Linked DNA regions of Homo sapiens: region 1 is linked to region 2. Evidence: promoter capture Hi-C in 16 types of primary human blood cells and fetal thymus (Javierre and others, 2016). All regions are on one chromosome and are shown on one strand. Each heading gives the region's core, a stretch centred on a gene start or on the middle of the fragment in contact. The rest is flanking DNA. Distances are from core to core; before and after follow the strand shown. Region 1 holds the start of STARD4-AS1 (STARD4 antisense RNA 1). Region 2 holds the start of PJA2 (praja ring finger ubiquitin ligase 2).

The links. Contacts are between HindIII fragments. The CHiCAGO score rates a contact against its expected background, and 5 or more counts as called.
Region 1: a contact is called between the fragment with the promoter of STARD4-AS1 here and the fragment with the promoter of PJA2 in region 2, in 1 of 17 cell types (activated CD4 T cells). The highest score is 5.5, in activated CD4 T cells.

What each region holds. Positions count from the first base shown.
Region 1 is chr5:111,510,722-111,516,262 of GRCh38, forward strand. It overlaps STARD4-AS1 (STARD4 antisense RNA 1), which reads left to right and starts at 1,505. Exons shown (of 7, transcript NR_040093.1): 1 at 1,505-1,787. It overlaps STARD4 (StAR related lipid transfer domain containing 4), which reads right to left and starts at 1,814. Exons shown (of 6, transcript NM_139164.3): 1 at 1,664-1,814. It overlaps LOC105369177 (a long non-coding RNA gene), which reads left to right and starts at 4,864. Exons shown (of 4, transcript XR_948671.3): 1 at 4,864-5,541. RefSeq lists enhancers at 1,449-1,658, 2,139-2,278 and a silencer at 1,689-2,058. The HindIII fragment of the contact is 3,364 bases long and covers 329-3,692 here.
Region 2 is chr5:109,407,384-109,412,198 of GRCh38, forward strand. It overlaps PJA2 (praja ring finger ubiquitin ligase 2), which reads right to left and starts at 2,591. Exons shown (of 10, transcript NM_014819.5): 1 at 2,459-2,591. RefSeq lists enhancers at 1,676-1,775, 1,816-1,935, 3,046-3,225 and a silencer at 2,456-2,535. The HindIII fragment of the contact is 12,845 bases long and covers 44-4,815 here.

The DNA of each region.
Region 1 (5,541 bases), core at 255-2,754, 2.1 Mb after region 2:
TCTCAAGTTACTTTTCTTGAGGCCATCTATCAGCACCATAGTCTTGACCAATCCAACTCCAATTATTCTCAAATATCTGTCACAGTGAGATGGCATAGGTTCTATTTTAAATATGGAACATAATAAAACATTTAACCTGTAATGTAAAGTGAATGCCATAAAAATCTGTTTGGACTTTTGTAGTACGACTAGGTCAGAATTCACTTGTTAAAGAAATGCAGGTATCAGAACGGTCTAACCTTGCATTACTTGATTAATATGGTTTTCACTTCCGTCAACAGCTTCAGTTTAACATGCCATGGACTTTCCCCAATGTCATACAAACCAAAGCTTTGTAAATTAAATTATATTTTCTAACTAACATAAAAATTTCAGCATATGCTTGATTTCCAATCAATGTTGAACTGTTAAGTTTTCTAACTCAGACAAGTACAGCAGCTTCTCATTTTTTGAGACTGGCTCTGGCAGGAGCTCACTATTTAAAGAAATGCAACATGGAAGTATATTTCTACAATATGAATAGTGAGCCAACTTACTGTTCAAACCCCTAATGCTCTAATACTTGATTAAAAAAAAAACCTAATGCTCTGTACTTGATTTTAAAAAATAACAATAACATTTATTGATCACTTACTACATGGTCAGTCCTTCTGGCTGCTTTACATTGCATTTATTTTATTTAATCCTCACAACAGTAATAGTCCTCCTTGAGAAAATGTGTTTCATTATGGTAAAGGAATTTTAGTTATTCAGAAGCTCTAGGATTGGTGTAAATGGGCATACTTTAGATATCTTGAGGTCTTCCATAAGTGAGAATAGTAGCTTAATGTCTATACATTTTCCCTGTTTTACAGAAAGGGAAAATAGCAACAGGAAGGTTGAGTCACTTGTCCAAGATCACACAGTTCATAAGTGATGGAGCCAGAATTCCAACCCAGGGCGTCTGACTTCAGAGCCTAAAGCTCTCTCTTGTAAAACTGTGGAAGCTGATCACAGGCTGGAAAAGACTTCATATAAAAAACCTGGGCCCACCAAATATTTGTCAAGTTTTGTCCTGGCTGCTGAACCTAAAAATCTAAGGTAATCTTTCTCAAGTGTAAATTCGGGAAAACAATGACACTGATTTGGTGAGAAATTATTTGAGTTAATACATTTAGCAGGGACCTTGGAAGGCAGTAAGCCCTGGGAAAACTTTGTCTCTTGTCTTTGGCATCACCTCCGCGAAGCCTGGTGGGACGCGGCTGCCCCTGCGCTGTCTGTGCACCTCCTAAGAACCAGGAAGCGCGGTGACCTCCAAAGAACAGGACTGTCCCAAATCAAGCGGGATTACCACCGCCCCTCTCCCATTTAACAGCTGAGGACACTGAGGTCTAATGGATTCCAAGTACTTAAATAGGTGAGCGGCGCGCAGGGGCGAGTTGCAAGCCCTGGGATCCTTCCAGCTCGCCGCTTCCCCTCCCAGGGGCTCAGGTTTCTCTTTCATCTGTGAGGTCCTCTCCCGCCCGGACGCCGGGGCCCGCCATCCCCAACGTCCACCGCGAGCTCCCCAGATCCATGGTCTGGAGCAGGTCCAGAAGACGCACCTGGCAGGACGCCCCGGGCGCCACAGTCGCCCTCCACACGGGCCACCCCAATCCTGCCGCGGCTCCGTGGCTCTCCTTACCTTTACCTGAGGTGAAGCAAGGACGTGGAAGCAGCTACGGCGCGCTACCAAGCACCTCACACCGCTCTCAACAGTACTGCTCAGCCTCCCGGCCCGCCGATGCGCAGGCGACAGCAGCCAACTTGTAAGTCACCGCTGGTCGCAGCCAACTGGAAGGCACCCAGCGCCTCAGGGCAAGGCGGGCCGAGCCCCCAGCCCCGCCCCCTGGCCCGATCCCGGGGGCTCCGGGGAGGGGGGGCTGAGAGGAGGTGGCCGGAACAACGTGCGCTTGTTCGGATTGGCTGGCGCGGGAGCGTGTGGAGGGCTGATTGGTGGCCGATAAATGGAATGATTCCGCGTGGGTGTGGGCTGGCCCGAGCCGCGCCAGGGTTCCCTGGATGTCTGGGGTTGCCTGCAGGTTTGGATTGGTTGGGTTGGGTTGTCCTGTGATCACTTAATTGTGAAAGAATTTTGTCAAGCAGTAAACCGACTGGGAGAAATTGAAACAGAAGGCGAAGTGAAGGATCACAGTGAGGGATAAGGTCCAAATTCATCCCGCTTGTGGATATCCTAGTATCTCGCAACTACGCTACTCCTCCCAGGACTAAAAGTCAAATAAGAAAAAGCGCCCATGCAGAGGAGGACGAGCTCTCTGCCTCCTGCTTAGCCTGACTCAGAACTGAGAGAGCTGGGAAGGAAAATGCATATAAACGAAAGTCCCTGCCACTATGTGAATTGACCTTTAGCCAAATACGTTTGTGTGTGTGTGGGTGTGGGTGTGTGTGGGTGCGTGTGTGTGTTTCCATCCTCAGATAAAGAGTTTAGAGGGCAACCTTAGAAGCAGAGAAAAGGAGGAGGTGTGACAAGTGGATTTAGCAACTGCACAGTTTTGGAGTTTCCATCTACTCGAACATGAGAAAGATTTCTTCCAGTGGCTGTGAAGTCACCCATCTGATGGGATGCTTGGCAAACAGTGAATTTCTTCCTTTACCAGAGTAGCCATGATGCACTGATTAGCGAGGCTTGGTTTGTCTGCAAATTGCGTTTACTAAGATACGTAGTTTGAGAACCAAAAGCAGGGAAGAATGCAGTGCTACACCATTAGTGATTTCTGATAGACTTGCAATGAAAATAAATAATATTTCGTAAATTTTTAAGTCGGCCTCACCAAAAGAATTACCAAATACTACTTGCTAGTTATTATTGGCCGATTTATTTTTTACCTCCATCGTTTATATGTAAAATAATTTGTTTTATATTTATATTTATAATTTCGTGTGACATAATAGAAGAGTTCTTCGTGTGTTGTAAAGCTCCTTTCACTTAGGAATTATTGGCCAATTATTGAGGTGCTTTGGATGGATGGATGAATACGTAGATAAATAATTTGAAATGGTTGGGGAAAAGTGCTTTGTAATTAAGTTGTACCTACTTAATTCAATTACATTGAATCCTCTTAACAGCCCCCTAAGGTAGGTGTGTTTTACAGGCGAGGAGCCCCAGACATAAATCTTAAGGCAGGTTGCTTAATTACTGAGTGGAGAAACTGGAATTTGGCTGAGGTCTGCTGGACTCTGAAACTGGGCTCTTAGTCTCCATAAAATTCAGATGGTGCTTGGTAGCTCTTTGTCAAGGCACCTGTGAAGACCACTGGGACCATAAATGAAAGGCCTAATTCCTACTGTGAGGGTTTACACAGGTTTAATGGTGGAGAGGAATAAATCCACGTATCTATTTCAAAAAAGTAAAAAAGTTGTATCTGTCATTATTAGGATTCAGTTCTGGATACTTTGCTCAACAGTCTATATATTCTCTTGCAGGATGGTGTAAAACATGTTTAAAACAAAATTAACTTGGCTTTTTTTTTTTGGACGGCGGGAGTCATTACATCACACTTATGCCCCCATGGGATTTCTTATCTTCCAGCCAGTTTCTGGGAGGTTTTTGTTTCTTTTGCTTTTGTTCTTCATCTGTTGCCATTTTTCTTGGTTAGAATGAAGTTTGGGTAATTGGAAGCCACTCTATCAAAGTGGAATGCTACTAACAGCAAAGCTTCAGATTCAGAAATACATATACAAATACATCATCTGGAGCTATTTTTGAGGGTTTAGTATGGTCCAAACACAGTGCTAAGCATTTTACATTTTACAGCAATGCCTGAAAATAGGCATGTACTATTACTATTTTCATTATACACATGAGAGAACTGTAGTATGTAACACAACAGATAGATCTCCCCTACAAATAGTTTGAAAATGGGAAAATAAGGTCTCCATCTAGAATTCAAATATAAAAGAGGCATATAATGAATTTGATCAGCTAAATGGAAACTTAACCTAAAGAGACAAAACAACTGCCCTGCCAAGTCCTGACTATAATCTGACTGAATATAGTAACACATCTAAAGAAAGAATTTTCAAGAAGAAAAACATTAAAAATTCCAAAACACAGAAATAATATATCCACAATTTCTAACCTGGGCAATAAATCTAGAAGTAAGCAAAGCAAAAACACGCTCACAAATATCCCCAACTACTTGAAAATTTCTAAAAATCTGTCCCCAAACACATTGGTTTAAGAGAAAAATCAAACATTACATGCTGAAGAATATTAATAAAAATATTTTAAAATATTAATATTAATAATAAAAATCAAAACACTATATATCAAAGCCAGAGAACAGAACAAATTTCAATTCAGGAAAATTCATAGCCTTAATTTAATTCAACAAATATTTATTAGTTGTTTGCTACCTGTACCAAGGACTGTGGGTATAGTGTATCTTAACAGAGAGCTATTTATTTGCTAATAGAAGAAACTCAACCTGAATTAAGCTAAAAAAAATGTGTTAAAAGGATATAGAAATGTCTTATAAAAATTTGATACTGAAAGTCGGGGCCACAGACCAGCAGCATTGGTATCACCTGGGCGCTTAACAGAATTGCAGAATCTCAGGCCCCAACCTACTGAATCAGAATCTACATTTTTAAACGACATCTGGATGGTTTTATGCACATTAAATATTGAGGCCAGGCGTGGTGACTTACGCCTGTAATCCCAGAATTTTGGGAGGCCAAGGCAGGTAGATCACTTGAAGTGCCCAGACCAGTCTGGGCAACATGGTGAAACCCCCTCTCTAATAAAAATACAAAACTTAGCCAGGCGTGGTTGGTGTATGCCTGCAGTCCCAGCTACTTGGGTGACAGAGAGAGACCCTGTCTCAAAAAAAAACAAAAAAAAACAAAAAAAAAACTTGAGAAGCACTATTATAGAGCACAAAGCCTTGACTTACAGCTAAGCCTCAAAATGATTGAAGCCAGAACTTAGCCACCAAGAACTAAGACTGTACAAATTCATTGAACTGTACATTTAAATTGTGTGCACTTCATTGTAAATTGTACCTCAATTAAAAAGAAAAAGAATCAACCAAGAAGTTAGAGAAAAACATCAGAAAGAATGAATTAAGAAATATACAAACAAAAAATTGGGAAAAATGGAAAGCAAAGAAACAGTAGAATTAATTTTAAAACTACATCACATGTGGGCTGATAGATGCAGCAAAGCACCATGGCGCATGTTTACCTATGCAACAAACCTGAACATCCTGCACATGTATCCTGGAACTCTAAATTTAAAAAAATACATCACATGATTTTTTTCCCCTGTTGGGGATTGGTTTGACTATAATAAAATAGGTAAATAAACAGTCTAATAGAGAAGAGGAAATGGCAGAGGAAAAAAAAGTCAAGTAATTATGACTAAGAAAGGGGAAGAAATCATAATTAAAGAGTAAATTAAAATAGTAAGTCTTTGTGAACTAACAAATTAAATCCAGGTGAAATGGATACTACTTCCAAGGAAACACAAATCACCAAAATTGATACAAGAAGAATTTTGAG
Region 2 (4,815 bases), core at 1,341-3,840:
AAGACTAGAAGGAAATATTTTAATATCAGCGGCTTTACCAGAAAGCTTCACCAAACATCATAATTAATGCTAAAACATTAGAAGCATTCCCCCTTAAAGTCAGAAACAATGCCATGTTTGTTGTTAGCTATCAGTGCTATTAGTTTTTAATCTACCAGTGCTCAACATTTTATAAGATGTATAATTGCAAAAGCAATGAGAAAAACACATAAGTTATAAAAACTGAAAAGGAAACCACAAAACTGTGAATATCTCCTGATAATCAACTCAATAAAATAATCTGATACATGATAGAAAACTCAAAAGTTTTGCTATAACCAGAGAAAACAGAGAGAGAGAAATGTTACTGAAAGTTTCCATCCACCACACGAATCAAACCATAAAATAGGAATACCAGGAAGGAATGTTATACGTATGAAGAAAAAAAAGAAAAACTATAAAAATTTCCCTAACAGTATAAAACAAGATGTGAATAAAATGGAGAGGCCACATTTCTGAGGAGAGAGACTCAATACTATAAAGATCAGTTGTCTCCAAATTAATCTAAAATTTCAATATAACCTTATTCAAAATAGCTAAGGATTTTTAGTTCAGTCTAAAGTTTACCTAGAAGAAGAAATGCATAAGAAACATTCAAGAATATTTTCAACAAGAGTAATAAAGAGGGAGAAAGGGTTACCAAAATTTAAAATATGCATAATCTTTTAACTGAGCAACTTCACTTCTAGGAACCCATGCTCCAGAAATAATCACACATAGAGGAAGTTTACTGAATTGTTAACAGTGGCTGACAATCAAGATGCAAGCAGGACTAGAAGTGGAAGCGGTAATTTTTACCTTACATTCTTCCATACTGTTTAATTTTTTAAAATCAAGGATGAATTAAAATTTGTAATTAAACATCGATCAATAAATTAGAAAGTTATTTTCATTATAAATCATCATTTGTAATAGCAAAAAGAAACTGCAATTAAATGTCTTTCAAAAAGGGAATAGAATAAATTATAGCCCATTCAAACTCACGAGATACCAGTTAGCCTTTTAAAAAGTATTAGGGAGACCTATATGTAAAAAGTAAAAATGTCCAACATATGTAATTAAGTCAATAAGCAAGCGGTATGCAAACATGTTTGGTATATGGTATAGCCTCCCTCAAAAAAAAAAACTTTACGTGTACTTGTATGTGTCTAGAAGTGCATTTGCAAGATTTTGAAAAATGAACACTAAACTGTCAACTTTACACTGGAGTGGGACTGGGGGATGAAAAGAAATATTTAAATTTTACCTAACAGTCCGTTATTTATATTGTTGAAGTGTACATCAAACTTGCATGTCTGCAATGAATTTTTAAAATTAAGTGGTCATCTCATATAAAAATGACATGAACCCCAAAAGACAATTACAACACTGAAAAATACAGTTTAAACGTTTATTACTGTTATCCTCAGGTTTATTCACATACACTTCAAATGATCCGTAGCCTTCAGCAAAGGTGACTGCCATTTTAAAGAAATGTGACCAAATATTTCATGATAAAACAGAATACATTAAGCCTGCAATGAAAATTTTAAACTTCACAGAACCAGCAGACTCAAAAGAAGCGCCTATGCGGATGTAAATTTTTTTTTTTTTAATGTCCGGAGAAGGAACTCTCAGATTACTCTCCTCCCTGCAAAACGACTATTTACCACCTCCCCTTTGCTTCAACTTGGTCTGAGCGTCTTTAACCTCACCATTTTGAATGTGCGCAAAATGATTACCAGTCATCTGAGGGAGGCCAAATTAAAGGTGCATCTGCAAGAGGAGCTCTGGCCTGACATCGCTAACTGAGAGCAGCCCTGGCGGAAAGGTGCTGATCCCGGGAGTAGAGCGACTGCTGCGGCTCGAGCGGGGTGTCTGCGTGCCGAGCCTCACTGACAATCGGGGAAAATGCAGACGCCCAGCAAAACGACGGCAACAGAAGGCTCCTCGGGGGAGGGGTGCTGCAGGCCTGTGGCGTAAGATGGTTCCGCTCTACGCGGGGTGACGGGAAACCGCAGAAGGTGGGTGTGAGGTGTTGGTTGGGGGGCAAACTCTTGTACAGTGGCGAGTGTAGGGGAAAGCCAGCGGGCTCCTTGGCCAAGTCACCAAGGACAGCAGAAGAGGCAGCAGTAAAGAGCGGCAGCGAAGACCCCGATACCAACCAATGTCATCTGTCGGGGGGCGGCGGGCGCGACCGTCCCGGATAGGAGCGCGGCCCGGGTCCGGGCTGGACAGGGCCCAGGAGGCGAAGAAGGCCTCCCACAGCCATCAACCCCACCCACCATGGCCGGCGCAGCAGGCCAGGGACAAGCCCCGCTCCTTCCGAAGCTAGAGACAGAGAAACTGAGGAGCTGAACGCAGCAATTTCCTCGCCCCGACCCCCACACTCCCGACAGCGGAACAAGCCAGACTGAAAAAAAAAAAAAAAAACCCTCACCGAAATGTGCAGCGGCTCCGGAGCGAGAACAGCGCTCGAACCTCCACCCGCCACCACCGCCTTCTTCTCCGCCTCCAACTCCTCCCCCGCCGAACGCGAAGCGGCTGGCGGCTGTGGCGGCGGCGGCGGCGGTGGCGGCGGCGGAAGCAGAGGCGGTGGCGGTGAGTCCCGCCCCTTGCGCCGCGGTGGAGGCGAAGGAGGAGAGTACGCAAGCCCCTCCCCCATAGCAGAGATGACCAGTCAGCTTACAGGGTCTCTGCTGGGGGACAATGCATACGCCCAATCAGAACCTGAGGAGTGGGCTCACGTCAATGGTTGGGACGTGGCAGAAAAAGGGAAAAATACTTGGACCTTCTCTACAGCCTGCTCCCCCATCTCCCTCAGGGGGAGTTCACCAATTGGCTGAAGAGCGGAAAGACGAAGCCGACTCAGTCCCCCGCCCCAGCCGAGCCCACCTCCTTTCCCTGCAGTACTGCGACGTTTGGGGAGGGGGCGGAGCACCGTGTAGGAGCTAAAACTGCGCGGCCTTTTGTGGTTTGGGCTGAGAGAAAAGGGCGGGGTCTCGGAAAGGGAAGGGGGTGTGGAGAACTAACAGAAAGACTGGCGCAGTTAGGCTTTTTCGGAAATTCCAACAGCAACAACCAAAATGGAGGCATTAAAATCGATCCTGATTCGACTGGAAACCTGATTAACAAGGTTAAGGTCTCCTGGCATAAAGTTCAGTTACAATGCAGATATCGGTGAGACAAAAAAAAAAAATGACACGAAGAAAGGCTTGTTTACCCACCCTGACCCTGGGCACTATATGGCGCTTTCCACCCTCCCTCTCCGCGCTGACCCTTGCCCCTCGCTTCTTATTCTGCTGGGGCGGGGTTCAGAGGAGGCCTGCCTTTCCTCTGTATAGCCTTGGGCTGACCACAGCCTCCCAGCTTGCATCTTGAGGCTGTTTGTCAAGCCGGGAAGTAACAGCTCCCATCACATGCAACCAAAATAAATACAACAGCTGCAGTCCCCGGACACCTTGCTTAATTTAAACCTGGGTAACAGTTTAGTTAATTATGTCAGTGATACAAAACTGTTTCTTCGTTCCGCACATATTCCCTTTATTCATCTTGAAACGTGTCCGCTTATCTGATTACAGTCCCTCTGTCTTCTCTTATTCCCCACCCCCGACCCGTCGCCTGATGCCCAGGATATATTCATCGCCACCCCTCCCCCGCGAATTAAGAGCCCCACTTCTTGTGCTGTCCCCTTAACAACAGCGAACTCTCTTGCCAGTGAACTGAGACTAATTTTTTTTTGCTGTTGATGGAAATAAATTACCCAAAATTTACTGTAGAAATTTAGGTTTATGAGAATTTGCCAGACATTTTGTGAAATCCAATCTGAATCCCAGCCCACTCCTGTAGTACGTTTCTTACCAAAAAACCATTCCTTGCTTGATATTACTCTGCCTTCACACGTGTTGCTATAGGAGTTCTGACTTTAACCATCCAAGTACCTCTTTGAAAAAAAACAAAATTCATATTTTAATTACATTTCCCTAGTTTCCCTTTAGGGTGTTCCAGATTGGCCCAACTGGATACATTAACCTGTTCTAGAAGGCAGGGATTCCCAAATTTCAACCTTTTTCATACTGTATCTGTGTATACTACTCACTGTCCTTTTTTCTTTAAATAAATGTATATTTTCTTTAATTTCTTTAAGAAGGAGACTTTATAAAAGTACTATAAATGGAAAACTAGCATCACCTATTATAAGTTGAAAGTAACTGTAAGAAAAATGAATGCAAAACAATGTTTTTAAATTGTGGCTAGAAACTGTTGTCCACTAAAGGCTCTAAGTCTAAAGACAACTGTCTTTGTTAAAAGGGCAAGCTACCAAGCATTAGACACACATTAAAGATACAGCACTCAAATGGTATTTTTATCATGATGTCATCAAAGGATAGAAAAAATAGAGCCGGAATAGCAATCACTTTCTCACTATATGAGTCATTGTTTTTAATCCTGCATGCGTGTCCCAACTACAGTTAACCAAGGCATCATAAGTGATCTATGTTACTATGAGAAACACTGGTATGGAGGCTGAAAAAGCCTGTACTCTAGAATCAAGCAGACATATTCACATACTGGCTCCTGCATTTGTAGCCGTGTGCCTCTGGGCAATCTACTTTGTTCTCTGACCTCGATTTCCAGTTTATTATAAATATGGGAAAGTAATAATACCAATTCATGAGTTGTATAGATTAAATAACCTAATCAATGTAAAGCATATCATACCTACAATGAAGTACTAAATACATATTAGCTTATGTATTGTATTACTATATAGAGATAATAGTATGTATTATTCGC